Regions from separate parts of the Homo sapiens genome. Here region 1 is linked to region 2. The links are contacts of gene promoters, found by promoter capture Hi-C in human tissues and cell types (Jung and others, 2019). All regions are on one chromosome and are shown on one strand. The core of a region is centred on a gene start or on the middle of the fragment in contact, and the rest is flanking DNA. Distances in the headings are between cores, read along the strand shown.

The links. The method cuts DNA at HindIII sites, captures the fragments that hold promoters and counts their contacts. A contact is called where the count stands out against the background at its distance.
Region 1: a contact is called between a fragment that was not itself captured here and the fragment with the promoter of TCTN2 in region 2, in 1 of the 25 tissues and cell types used here (dorsolateral prefrontal cortex).

What each region holds. Positions count from the first base shown.
Region 1 is chr12:122,984,786-122,988,624 of GRCh38, reverse strand. It overlaps PITPNM2 (phosphatidylinositol transfer protein membrane associated 2), which reads left to right. Exons shown (of 26, transcript NM_020845.3): 20 at 275-391; 21 at 724-840; 22 at 966-1,114; 23 at 1,195-1,344; 24 at 1,796-1,979; 25 at 2,061-2,189; 26 at 2,275-3,839. The coding sequence ends at 2,598. Among named protein-coding and RNA genes, the nearest start is that of ARL6IP4, 6.0 kb to the right of the region's middle. The HindIII fragment of the contact is 7,000 bases long and covers 1-3,839 here.
Region 2 is chr12:123,669,406-123,673,008 of GRCh38, reverse strand. TCTN2 (tectonic family member 2) reads right to left here and starts at 1,896. Exons shown (of 18, transcript NM_024809.5): 1 at 1,687-1,896; 2 at 1,395-1,502; 3 at 877-953. The coding sequence starts at 1,768. The HindIII fragment of the contact is 13,736 bases long and covers 256-3,603 here.

The DNA.
Region 1 (3,839 bases), core at 991-3,490, 680 kb after region 2:
CCCCATCAGATCACAGAGCAAGCAAGATGAGGGCACCTTTATGCTCGGGTGTATTCAGGCTTTTCAGGACATTGGGATGGAGGGAACATATCTGCACATTCGTCAGGTGAACGAACAGGGGTCTGAGGGCTACTGGGCAGACAGTAGTGAGTTGAAGAACACCCCCTACAACCCACAGGCTCCTCTTGCTCCCGGGTACTGGGCCTCCTCCTCCCAGGGCAGGAAGCCCCCGGGTGGCATCTGCCCCACAGCCTGCACTGTCCCCTCTTCCCAGGTCATGAGGCATGACAACTCCAGCATCTTGGAGCTGGATGGCAAGGAAGTGTCGGTGTTCACCCCCTCAAAGCCAAGGGAGAAGTGGCAGCGCAAGCGGACCCACGTGAAGCTGCGGGTGAGGGTCCCCCGGGCGCCCAGGCCCCCACGATGTCACCCTGTCACCAGCCTCCGTGTCCAGATGAGGAAACTGAGTTGCAGGGAAGCCTGCAGTCTTATGTACCTTCCCAGGCCATGAGGTTGGAGCTGTCAGCCCACTTCACAGACAGGGAAGGCAGCAAGGCTTCCTAGTTTCTCCAAAGCCACGTCATCGTGTCTGATCCAGACTCAGACATGGGCTGCGCAGCTCACAGCTCAAGCCTGCCCCTCAGGCCCACAGAGCTTGAGCAGAACACAGGGACCCGGGGTGCCCTCCGACCCCCTGACCTGGGCTTGCCACTCCCTCCACAGAACGTGACGGCCAACCACCGGATCAATGATGCCCTTGCCAATGAGGACGGCCCCCAGGTTCTGACGGGCAGGTTCATGTATGGGCCCCTGGACATGGTCACCCTGACTGGGGAGAAGGTAAGGACACGGCGGGTAGGGGTAACATGGAGGGACTTTGGGGAGCTCCCTGCTGCCCTCTGGCCGGGGTGCAGGGGGTGGAGAGGCCAGACACAGCCAGCCCGTGACCAGCCTGCTGGGCCCAGGTGGATGTGCACATCATGACCCAGCCGCCCTCAGGCGAGTGGCTCTACCTGGATACGCTGGTGACCAACAACAGTGGGCGTGTCTCCTACACCATCCCTGAGTCGCACCGCCTGGGCGTGGGTGTCTACCCTATCAAGATGGTGGTCAGGTATATGCCTGCACTGGGAGGGCGGGATAGGCAGGGCGAGGCTCTGGGTGGTTCTGATGAGCACCCCCACCACCTGCCAGGGGAGACCACACGTTTGCCGACAGCTACATCACCGTGCTGCCCAAGGGCACAGAGTTCGTGGTCTTCAGCATCGACGGTTCCTTTGCCGCTAGCGTGTCCATCATGGGCAGCGACCCCAAGGTGCGGGCCGGGGCCGTGGACGTGGTGCGGTGAGTGGCCCAGAGGGGCACAAAGGGGCTGTAGCAAGGTGGGTGGGCTCAGGGGCTCCCACCAGCCAGGTGGAGGAGGACAGCGGAGCCTCTGTGGGGGACGCCTGGCTCGGGCACTGGGCCTTAAGGACCTCAGTTCAGAGCCCAGCACCCCCAATTATTAGCCGTGTCACCTTGGGCAAGCGATGTCACTTCTCAATGTCGGCTTTCAATTCCCGCATCTGGAAGGTGAGGCTGGTAAGCCAGGGACACAGCAGCAGGGGCATCTGCCGCCCAGTGCGGGCACCCAAGGGCCTGCTGCAGCACGTCATTGTCAACCATTGTCGTCGTTACTGTCTGAGCTCAATCAGAGATGTGCTTTCCAATGGCCCAAGTGGGCCCTGGCTGGGCAGGAGACAGGGAGGCCCAGGAGGGAGGAAGGGGTGACCATGAGACGACACCTCACCCCCAGGCACTGGCAGGACCTGGGCTACCTCATCATCTACGTGACGGGCCGGCCCGACATGCAGAAGCAGCGGGTGGTGGCGTGGCTGGCCCAGCACAACTTCCCCCATGGCGTGGTGTCCTTCTGTGACGGCCTGGTGCATGACCCGCTGCGGCACAAGGCCAACTTCCTGAAGCTGCTCATCTCCGAGGTGGGGCCCGGGAGGATGGGGCAGGGCAGGGGTGGGGGCAGAGGGACCATGGTGCCTGTGCCCATGCCAGTCTCCCCACAGCTGCACCTGCGCGTGCACGCGGCCTATGGCTCCACCAAGGACGTGGCGGTGTACAGCGCCATTAGCCTGTCCCCCATGCAGATCTACATCGTGGGCCGGCCCACCAAGAAGCTGCAGCAGCAGTGCCAGGTGAGTGGGCGCATTGTGGGGGCGGGTGCAGGCGGGCAGCTCGGGGAGCCCCAGCCTGTGACAGCCGTCCTCACTGACCCCGCAGTTCATCACGGATGGCTACGCGGCCCACCTGGCGCAGCTGAAGTACAGCCACCGGGCGCGGCCCGCTCGCAACACGGCCACCCGCATGGCGCTGCGCAAGGGCAGCTTCGGCCTGCCCGGCCAGGGCGACTTTCTGCGCTCCCGGAACCACCTGCTTCGCACCATCTCGGCCCAGCCCAGCGGGCCCAGCCACCGGCACGAGCGGACACAGAGCCAGGCGGATGGCGAGCAGCGGGGCCAGCGCAGCATGAGTGTGGCGGCCGGCTGCTGGGGCCGCGCCATGACTGGCCGCCTGGAGCCGGGGGCAGCCGCGGGCCCCAAGTAGGGCACCGTGAGTGCAGCGCGGGGTCTCCATGGTGCTAGGCCAGGGTGGCCAGCCCCGCCAGGAGGCCTGGCCTGGGCACACGCACTGACGTGGGCCTGGGAGATTGTCCCAGGGCCTTGTGGAGGACACGGGCCGCACCACACAGTGCTCCCTGCCCTGCCTCACGTCCTCGGGCCTGACGGGTCCGGCTTGTCATGGAAGCTGGCAGGGACCACCAGCCCCAGGATGGCAGAGGGACCAGAACCTCCCACTCAGACTGGCCCGGGAGGTTCTCCCAGACATTTTGCCCTGTGTGGATCTCCAAGTGTCCTGGTGCCAGGTGTGGGCCCAGGCGCAGCCTGCCACCTCCCCATCCACTGGCCACCCTCACTCCCAGGTCCCCTCCCATTTGGTAGCAGCTCCAACAGGGGTCCAGCCTGCATCTTGTTAACTCGAGTTTCTCAACTGTTCAACCTCACTGGTTTTGCACTGATTTTTGAGAGCGGAGACCCATTACCACCTCCTATGGCTACAGCCCCGTTGACATGCATGAAACTCAGTACCTGCTGACCCAGGACCTACAACCACACTGAAGGCTCCAGTGCGGCAGAGCCTCGTGCAAGCAGGAGAGAAAGGCTGTATCTTAATTTCTGCACCCCGGACCCTGCCCACCTGTCTGCCTGCCCCGCCTGGAGCCCAGGCCAGTGTTGTTTCCAGCCTCAGGCCACGGGCTGGACGGGCCTGGCCGCCTCTTCCGCTCCCTGCCATCAGTCAAGGCCGCCCGCCCACGTTTCTACGCCTTTCTACTTCTCAATCTGATTTCTATGAGGTTTTTTTAAACGAGCAATCCTTGGCTGCTTCCTTTTCTTAACTCTTTCAGTACTGAGAGCAGCCCCTCCACACTGAAAACACCCAGCACTGTGACGGAGTCCAGCCTGGTTCTGGGTCCCGTGGGCCCTGCTCCTGCCCACTTAGCGAGGCATGGGCTCCTTGCCTCACCTGGCCCCGGCAATCCCACTGAATTTCTACTCTGGGGTGGGTGGGGCACACACTTCGGTTTTTTTAATGCCAATTCCGTTTTCATGCCGAATCTAAGAAGCCACAACTTGCTTTGTCAGCTTCAGGGCAGGCAGCCATGACTTCATTTCTCGCCTGAACAAGGACCATGCTGTCCTGCACGCTGGGTCTGACCGTCTGCCCTCTCTCCCCAGCACCAAGCGTGACCTTGGCTGTGGCGCTCAACGGCCAGCTCCGGCGGCCCC
Region 2 (3,603 bases), core at 647-3,146:
GCGTGATCTCGGCTCACTGCAATCTCTGCCTCCCGGGTTCAAGTGATTCTCCTGCCTCAGCCTCCAAAGTAGCTGAGATTACAGGCACCCGCCATCACGCCCAGCTAATTTTTGTATTTTTAGTAGAGATGGGTTTCACCATGTTGGCCAGACTGGTCTTGAACTCCTGACCTCAGATGATCCGCCCTCCTCGGCCTCCCAAAGTGCTAGGATTACAGGCGTGAGCCACCGCGCCTGACCAGCTTTTTCTTTTTTTTTAAGAGACAGGGTCTTGCTCTGTTGCCCAGGCTGGATGAAGTGCAGTGGTGCGATCATAGCTCTCTGCAGCCCTGAACTCCTGGGCTCAAATAATCCTCTTGCCTCAGCTACCCCACCCCCCTCCAAGTATCTGGGACTGTAGGTGTACGCCACCCACCTAATTTTTTTTTTAATTGTTTTGTAGAGACGAGGTCTCGCTATGTTACAGGCTGGTCTGGAACTCCTGGGCTCAAGCAATCCTCCCGCCTCAATCTCCCAAAGCGCTATGAGTACAGGCGTGAGCCACGATGCCTGGCATAAAGCTTTTTTGAATCACTGACCCATTTGATGATCTAAAGGAAACTGGTGACCCTCTCATCAGAAAAATGCACATACACACAGAACTTTACATACAATTTCATAGAGTTCACAGACCCACTGAAATACATCCAAGGACTCCTAACCCCAGGGTAAGGAACCCGTGGGCTGGATAAGTGTCTACCAGATCCAACAGCCCACAATTTCATGATTGTTGAGAGCATGGAGAAAGCCATGCCTTGTTAAATAAAGAGAGCACTGCAGAAACCCTAGCTGGGGGCCTCTTCACAGGCTACAGAGAAGGTTTACTTCTGGCCTTACCGCACCGGGGATCACAGTCACGCTCCAGTCTTCCGTCTCATTGTTCAGCACTCCACACGTCGGAATTGGCAATATTCCTAAAGAAAGAAGACCAGCATGCAAAGGCAGCAAGGTCCAGCAGCTCAGGGGGTGCATTGAGTCAGACTGCCTAGGATGGACTCACATTACAGCCTAAGATTGGGCCCTTTACAAGCTGCTTGACACTGGGACAGTGACAACCTCTCTGAACTTGTTTCTTCCTTGGTCAAAGGGGATGAAAAGATATTACTGTTCTTACTAGGAAAATGGGATGATGCACGATGTTAGCTCAATGAATGCTAACCATTATTATTTCAGGCTTTCTTCGAACCTGTCCGTCTGTCCTCTTTGGCCTACAGCAGCCGCCCGATCCTTTTCTCCCCATGCGACTTTGCAGAGAACAGAGGCAGGGGGCCCCAAGGATGCCACCTCTCCAGGCTCCTTGGGAGGTCTGGATCCAGTCCAACCCCCACCCTCCCCAAAAGAGGGCCGGACTTTACCCGCCTCGTCCTGCAGCACTGCCAGGGACACGGTCACACCCTCGGTGTCTCCGACCAGGGACGCGCTGACCGCAGGGCCGGACATTCGGATAAAAGGAGGGATGAAAGCTAGGCGGGAAGGAAAGGGGACAAGGAGGGGTTAGCAGTGGAAGAATCACCGCCTAAGGTGTGTGTGGCGGCTTGCTTTGGCGTTGTCGACTCCCGAAGCTCCCGGGGGAGTCCAAGTCTGGCCCTTTTAACGCCCAGTCCCCTCAGCCCCGGCCCACCGAGGTCACTGCCGCGCCGTACACACCCAGGTCCCCCCACAGAAGCCTCAGGATGCCCTGCAGAAGGAAAAGCCTCAAAAGAAGAGCGGCCGGAGGCTGGAAGCCCATGCCTTAGACCTCGCGGGCCGGGCACAGCAGAACCGCGCCCTCATTAGAACCCAGGAAGGACTCAGACACGAAAACGCAGCAGCCACTGCCCCGCCGCCGCCATCTTGCAAGCGAACGCCCGGAGCTATGGCAACCACCAATCGGCGGCCGGCCAGGAGGAACGCCGCGCTGTGATTGGACCAGTGGCAAGAGCGGGCACCCCGGCCCCGCCCACAAGGCCTAGCATTTTTGCTGCTTGACTCTGGTGGGGAGAGTGAGGGCTGAAAAACTACCTATCCGGTGCTCCACTTAGTACCTGGGTGACGAAACAATCTGTGCACCCAACCCCCGTGACACGCAATTTACCTATATAGCAACCTGTACATGGACCCCTGGGCCTAAAAGTTGAAAACATCAAAATTAAAAAGGTCCTGAAAAGCAGGAGTGCGTGTCCGGCTCAAAAACTGGAGTTTTCCCCTACCCTGGAATTAATCCAACAATAGCCAAGAGCGATCCTATAGACACTGGCTTCTAAATAAAAAGGGTGGGACTTGCTCCTTAATAAACTTGATTTTTATACGGATTTGTTTTAGGGGTGAGTAGAAAAAGGGGATGGGGCTGCCGCGCTGTGTTTATTATCTTTACTATCGTTTATGATGTATTATTTATATTTTATATTTTTATAAAATAAATATATATTTACAAAATAGATATACTTTGTTTTATATATATATATCAGATATACATACTTGATATATATAAAATACATATAGGCCGGGTCTGGCGGCTCATGCCTGTAATCCCAGCAATTTGGGAGGCCGAGGCGGGCGGATCACAATGTCAGGAGTCTGAGACCAGCCTGATCAACATGGTGAAACCCCGTCTCTACTAAAAATACAAAAAATTAGCCAGGCGTGGTGGCAGGCGCCTATTATCCCAGCTACTCAGGAGGCTGAGGCAGGAGAATTGTATGAATCTGGGAGGCGGAGGTTGCAGTGAGCCGCGATTGCACCACTGCACTCAAACCTGGGCGACAGAGCCAGACTCCGTCTCAAAAATATATTTATTTATTTATTTATCTTATAAAATATATATGTATTTATATTTTATCTTATATATATTTATCTTTTATATAAGTATATATTTTGTAAATTTTATACTTATATGTTATAATTTTATAAAATTTATATTTTTATAATTCTTATCATTATCATTTATTATCACTATTGCTTTTATTATCATTCTCCTAGGTTTTTGAAGGATTTTCTCCCCTGCACAGAGCTCTCAGCACTCTGAAAGCAGATCCAATCACAGAACACACAAGAGGTTTTGCCCAGCAATAGGACAGATGTGAAAGAATCAAAATTCTGTCTGGAAAAAAATTGTTTTTTCTTATATCAGTAGCCTCAGAACATTTCAAATATTGTCACGGCTTGGGGACTGAGAGTGCAGGGTCTGAGGTCAGGCTGCCTGGCATGGGATTTCGCCTTCCCTCCACAGATATTCTCAGCTGTTAAGTGACTTTGGGCAAGTCAACCTCTCTAAGTTTCAGCTTCCTCATCTATAAAAAAGGGATGATAATAATCCTTCCTTGGGGATTGTGTGAGGATGAAATGAGGTAACATATCTAATGAGGTTAAACCAATGGCTGGCATACAGTAAGCACTCAGTTAATGATCAGTTACTTGTTAACTATCAGAGAGGTGGTGTATCCTTTAGCTGAGACAATCATGGTGTTCAGCATTGTGGCTGACTGACGGTAAATGCCAAGTAAATGTTTGCCATTATTAGTCTTTTTTTTTTTTCTTTTTGAGACAGGGTCTCACTCTGTCACCCAGGCTGGAATGGTGCAGTGG